Regions from separate parts of the Homo sapiens genome. Here region 1 is linked to region 2. The links are contacts of gene promoters, found by promoter capture Hi-C in blood cells and fetal thymus (Javierre and others, 2016). All regions are on one chromosome and are shown on one strand. Each heading gives the region's core, a stretch centred on a gene start or on the middle of the fragment in contact. The rest is flanking DNA. Distances are from core to core; before and after follow the strand shown.

Region 1 (3,023 bases), core at 82-2,581, 230 kb after region 2:
ACATCACCACTGTCCCCCTGCCCTATGTAGATGCCCAGTTAGCACCATGTCACCCTCCCTCATATGTGGATGCCATCTCCCTGCCACTAGGGCTCTGACACCTTGCCCTGGGCCACTGCCAGATGGACATCTCCCTTGCATGGCTGCTGAACACACACTTGTAAAGGCAAGGAGTTTGACTTTATCAAGGTCTCTACTTTCTATCTATATACATTTATTCATTCAAGCATTTCTGCCTTACTTGACTGATAACTTTGGTGTCCCATCGATTACCCTTCTTTTGGCGGGGATCCTCCTGGTCCTCTTTAGACTTGCAGGTACAGGGGCTGCCATGGGGTTTTTATATACCTGTGCAGTCCAATGTGCTAGCCAGTAGTCCCATATCAAAATTTAAAATTCAGTTTCTCACTTGTGCTAGCTGTGTTTTTAGTGCTGAATAGCCGCATATGACTAGTGGCTACCATGTTGGACAGTGTAGATATAGAACATTTCCATCATCACAGAAAGTTCTCTTGTTCTCCTAACTTAACATTGATCCTTCTCTGACTTCAACTTAATTTTTCAGTGTTCAGATGATCAGCCGGACCACCCAAACACTCAGCAGTCCTTCATGCTAACTAGCCCGTCTCCATACCCACATAATAACAATTTCAGTAATCTTACCCTCTGCATACTCATTCCCAATACCCATGGGTCTATCCCTGTTGCCCCAGACCATCCATAATACATGATCTGCAAAGGGAACAGAGTGTTTGAAACTGAGACTATTTTGTAAAATCTTGGACATGTAGTTGCGATAATATAAAATGAGAGTAGTTAAAATCTTGCTTTTCTGAGCTTTTGAAATGCTTGTTTTCAGGTCATCCCTGGGAATCTCAGTTCCAGGTTGTCTTTTCGGCTCCTCAATACCCAACCCTTTTGTAGAGCCTCCTCCTCCAGACCAGTGCTTTTCAAACTTTAATGTGCGGAAGAACCACTGAAAACTGTTGTTAGAATGCAGGTTCTGATTCAGTAGGTCCACATGAACCTGCGATTCTGCATTTTAATGAACCTCAATTGATGCTGTTGTTGCTGCTCTGAGGACCATGCCAACAGGCCCCGAATGTCTGCCATATGGAAGCTCAGAATTGTCAACACTCCCTCTGCTTTTCCTTTGTCTTCCCTCAGAACACCTGCTCACCATGACCTGTACATCCAGGTGAGTGTTGGTTTTCAACAGAGATACCTTGCGAGTCTGTGCTCTGGCAATGCCACCACTCCAGAAAACAGCTCAGAGCTTAGCTCTTAGTTGTGTTCAGAGCCCGATTGAGCTAAAGAAGGGACAACTCTCTGTTTTATAGTCACACCTAATCTAATGGCTGTTGTAGCCTTTGATTAAAACTTATGCTTCCCAATACAAATTGTTGCTCCAGATTTGGTCCCAAAGGATACGACTGTTAGCAAAAACCAAATTTACCTGCTAAAGGATGAGCTATTTAAAAGGAATGTGTCACTTGCTGTGTAACTGCATTCCAACAAGGAGTTACATAAATGTTTTGAGACAGCAGCATCTTTGGAGTAAGTGCCAAGCCTCCAGAGGAACCCTGGTAAAGGGAAGCAGTGGTCTCATTTGGATATGCAGGTTCTTGCATTTTTGTTATGAAATCTACTCTCCTTTGAAGTTACCTCTTGTATTGTAATCTCTATAGTAATCCATTCTGTATTTCAGACATAAATTCTCTTTTTCTGGGCCATCCTTCCTATCTGTGTTCACAAGTCCATGCCATCTGCCAACATTTTGCCACGTGGAGTGGTAGGAAAACCAGGACAGGAGCAAGCTGACCCAGCTTCAAATCCCATTTCAATTGTTAGCAGTGAGATCATAGGCAATTTCTTAACTTCTCTGACCTTCAGTATTCTAATTAAAAACAAGGCTACTCTGAGTTACAGGGATTAAAGTAGATATGTTGTATACAAAATGTAAATTGGATACAGAAGTGGCCAGCCCAGAAAAGCACCTAAAATTGTTGTTTCCCTTTCTTATTTTTTTCTCTTTAGTATTAATTACTTCTTTGCTTAATTCATTCCTTCTTCATTCACATGCGTACATTTGCACAATGTAGAAAACAAAGATGACACGAGCCTGTTCACTTCTCCACATGCCTGTCCATCTCCCCCTGCCCCTATCAACATGTCTTGAAGGTGTGGCCACTGGCCGTTTGCATCACCTTTCTGTCTACGTAGCACCTGTCAGTGACCCCTGACCCCAGAGCACCTGCCCTTAGCCTTGAGAAGCCTGTATTTTCCCTGCTGGGCTCACCTCTGGGAGGTAGCATTCCCATTGTCTCTTCACTGGATGGCACTCTCACAGGTTAAAAGTGGGCCACACCCAGCAGTAGCCAAAGACCACTGTAGGAAGAACAAGATTGCTGAGTTAGTTTTTGATTTTCTTTTGCTTTCACATGTTTTGGAGAAATGGGATGAGGCTGCATGTGCTTAGGTTTGAGTTTGGGATGGGATAGGGGTCCTTACTCTTAGAGGCAGCAGGGGTTTGTAAGGGTAACAGAGATTCAGTGTGGGCCCAGGGAAGGGGGAGCTGAAACACAGCTGGTCTCAGGAAGGAGGTGGAGGGCGAAAGGGAAAGACGGGGATGGTCCATTTCAGCAGAAGCAAAGGTTTCCAGTCCATTAATTTTAACGTAATGCAAATCGGTTTATGGAAGTGCTGACATGCCGTTATTTAAAAAGCATGAGTAGCATGATAATTAAATCTCCATCTATATTTTATTCTAGCACATTTATAGTGTATCCTTGCCCAGCTGGGGAGATAGATTTCCAGCCTTATAATAATTATATAAACTGCAAATTACTAAAAAAAAAAAAAAAAAAAATGAACATTGATGCCAAAAACAAGGTGGGATATATTAATGTAAACTTCATTAAGTTGAACTCAGCTTTGTCCTTGAGTTTGACCACATTTACTCACTAAAAATATCTCAAAGTTATGCTTTTCAGCATATAACAAGAAAGGATATGGTGTCTGTT
Region 2 (2,917 bases), core at 386-2,885:
ACCATTTTTAAGTGTATAATTCAGTGACATTAAGTACATTCTAAAGTTGCGCAGGTTTTTTTTTTTAAATCAGTTCTAAATGGTTTAAACTGGCCAGTATTTACTAGAGCTGTTAGATCGACTTAATTTGGACCCATGAGACTCGTGACACTCAGAATTAATCTAATCCCATTTACACCAGGTGCCTCCCATCAAAATCTGTTTGATCAAGTGTGGAATTATTTCATCCCATTGGAACCAGCTCTTGAATCAATCAGAACTGGCTCTGCCAGGCTCCGGGCCAGTAGTCGGTGCTCAAAATGGTGTTTCTTTCTTTGGCCTAATCTCTTGAGTAGCCTCTTTCCCTTTTGTTAATTTTTTTTTTTTTCTGGAGGACAATCTTCCCTGGGAGCTCCCTTCTGCTCCCACGAAGCGCTCTGCACCCAGCCCTGGTGCTGCCTGGCTCTGGGGCAGGGAGCTTGCATTCTGCCACCTCCTTCATTGTCCTCTCGGTATACCTGCACTTTCAAAACAACCCCTGCAGGCAAGCTTTAGAGGCAGCGATAAACAAACAGGCTGACTGAAATTTAGGGAAACGCCTGTATCTGGACAGCCTCTTCAAATATTTGTCACCCCCTCCCTGCTCTGGGGAAAGAAGAGACAGTTCCTCACAGTCACTCTATTTCCTGCCTTCCCAGCTCTGAACACCTTGGCTCGAATGTAAAGAATTTGGCTCTGAATTAGGACTCAAGAAACGGGGCCCTAGCAATTTTCCCTCCATTAACTAAACGCGTCACTTTGGTCATGCCCTTTTGGGGGCAATAATTTCCCAATTCGTAAAATGAAGGGATCAAAGTTTGATTTTTATCATTACTAATGAGAAGAATTATTATTTTTTTGCAGCAGGCTTTTTTTTCCCCAACAAAATATTACTCTGAATAAGACAAGAAAGAATCCCGAACGGCTCTGGCCGTCAGGGTGTGTGTGTCTCCTCCCCATGCTGTCTAACCCCCGTTGGAATTTGGAGGGCTCTTGTCCTTTCCCCTTGGCCTCAGAAGGAGCCCAGCGCGTCCTACCTTGCGTGGGAGTGTGTGTGTGACCAGGGCTCCTTCCTGCCCTTAGAGTCACCGCCCCCTTCTCGCACAGGTTTACAGCACCACTTGCCTCGCCCACTCCCCGCTTTGCCTCCGCCCCATCCTGATGCTGCCGGAATGGCTGTTCCAAATGGAAGGATGCCCGCGTCCGTCCCCTGCCCCAGTCCTTCAACAGGTCCCCACAGACCTCAGGATAAGATGAACGCGGAATTCAGGGCCTGGTCTCAACCGCCCTCTCCCTTTTCCTCTCACTTAGACGACCCTGGCCAGCTGGGCCACTCTCCACTCTCGCCCCCTCCCGCCCTCGTGGCCTCTGTCTAGACCGTACTCCCTCCTACTGGGTGATGTCTCTTCCCCTGGGACCCAGGGACCATCCCGTTGTTGACCTCCGGGGTCAGGGGTGCGGATGGGGGCCGGCCCTTCCCGCGGTCGCCGCCAGGGGGCGGCAGGAGCGGCTCCAGATGACAGCGGGAGGCCGCAAGAGGGGAGGGAGGAAGGACCGAGGGAGCGCGGATCCCGCTCTCGGATCGCAAACTCTGAGCCAGAGCTCTCCGCGCGCGCCTGAACCGCTGGCCGCCCGCGCAGCCCGACGCGGAATCGGGGCACAGCGGGAGCCCGTGCAGGGCGGGCGCGGGGCGGCTGGGCGGCGGTGGCGGCCGTCCATGCGGCGGCGCTCGGGGCTGCCCGGCGCCGGGAACCACGCGGGGGCGAGGCGAGGCGAGGCGGCCGCCGGTCGCTCCGGGACGCGGACCGCCAGGTGAGCAGAGCCGCGCGCCCCGCGTCCCCTGCGCGCCGCCCGCGCGGCCCCGACCCGGCTTCCGCTGCCCAGGCTCCGGCTCCCGCTCTCTGGCCGGCGGGGCGGGCTGGCGCGGGCTACCCAGTGGGTGTGTCCGGGGCGCCGCGGGCTGCGCCGCTCCGGGCTCGGGGAGCCAGCGCGCGCCTGGTCCGTGCGGACGGCTGCGCCTCCTTCTCTGGTTCTCTTCCTTGCTGGGAGTCTTGCTCTGTGCTGGCGCCGGCGCTCATCCCTCCACCCTCGACTCTAGGGACAGTCTTAAACTCTAGGGACAATCCACCTCAGTCGTCCCCGGGTCGGGGCCCCGTGCTCCCCGGGTCGGGTCGGAGGGGACCGGCGAGTGCACACCCAGCCCGTGCGCCCCCCACCTCAGCCTCGCCTCCCTCCCGCCTGGGGCCCGAGAGCCGGGCAAGTCTCGGTCAGCGCTCCTTGAGTCCTGGCCTGGGGCCTCGGATCTGTGTGTCTGTCTGTCTCAGTTTAGTTGCTGCAACCCAGCGAGCGCCTGGAGCCCGAGTGGATGGGTTGTTTCCGCCAACTCTGGACACTTCCTCAAGTGCAGCCTAAGTACCTGCGGCCCCTTGGCGCACTTACAGAAGTAGCTTTTGCACAGCGAGCTCACCTTGGAGCTCTACAGATCTGGAAGTTAAGTTTTCTTTTTATTTGAAATAACATCAGCCCTCACTTGGGAAGGGGATTTTAGGGCGTTCTCGGGCCCACCTAAGTATCTGGAATTTGTGGTCTAGTAAGTTTTTTAAGCAGTCCGCACCCAGCACCGTACCTCCCAGCCTCCTTTGCCGTCTTACTAAAAGTGCATGCTTGCTTCTCTTCCTGTCTCCTTTGCGATCTCTACCACGCTGCGCTTCGCCCTTTTCGGGCTATGAGTCTAAAGCTTGGACGTGGGTAGCAATCATTGGATGCCTGTTGGAATTTGGAATTAGAGAAATAGATACCCGAGAGAGATCTAAGGAATCGCCTTGTCCAACCCTCCTTTCACAGTTGGAGGCACCCAGGACCCCTGACAGTCTGAAGATTTTTCAAGGATCACACAGCT

What was found. The method cuts DNA at HindIII sites, captures the fragments that hold promoters and counts their contacts. A CHiCAGO score of 5 or more calls a contact.
Region 1: a fragment that was not itself captured here is called in contact with the fragment with the promoter of CT62 in region 2 in 1 of 17 cell types (endothelial precursors); the score reaches 7.7 in endothelial precursors.

The regions. Positions count from the first base shown.
Region 1 is chr15:71,347,293-71,350,315 of GRCh38, forward strand. All of the region lies in intron 6 of THSD4 (thrombospondin type 1 domain containing 4), which reads left to right. Among named protein-coding and RNA genes, the nearest start is that of THSD4-AS1, 160 kb to the left of the region's middle. The HindIII fragment of the contact is 4,102 bases long and covers 1-3,023 here.
Region 2 is chr15:71,113,869-71,116,785 of GRCh38, forward strand. It overlaps CT62 (cancer/testis associated 62), which reads right to left and starts at 1,636. Exons shown (of 4, transcript NR_168260.1): 1 at 1,056-1,636. It overlaps THSD4 (thrombospondin type 1 domain containing 4), which reads left to right and starts at 1,603. Exons shown (of 18, transcript NM_024817.3): 1 at 1,603-1,830. RefSeq lists silencers at 1,417-1,466, 1,503-1,680, 1,527-1,586, 1,617-1,756, 1,907-1,996. The HindIII fragment of the contact is 2,227 bases long and covers 527-2,753 here.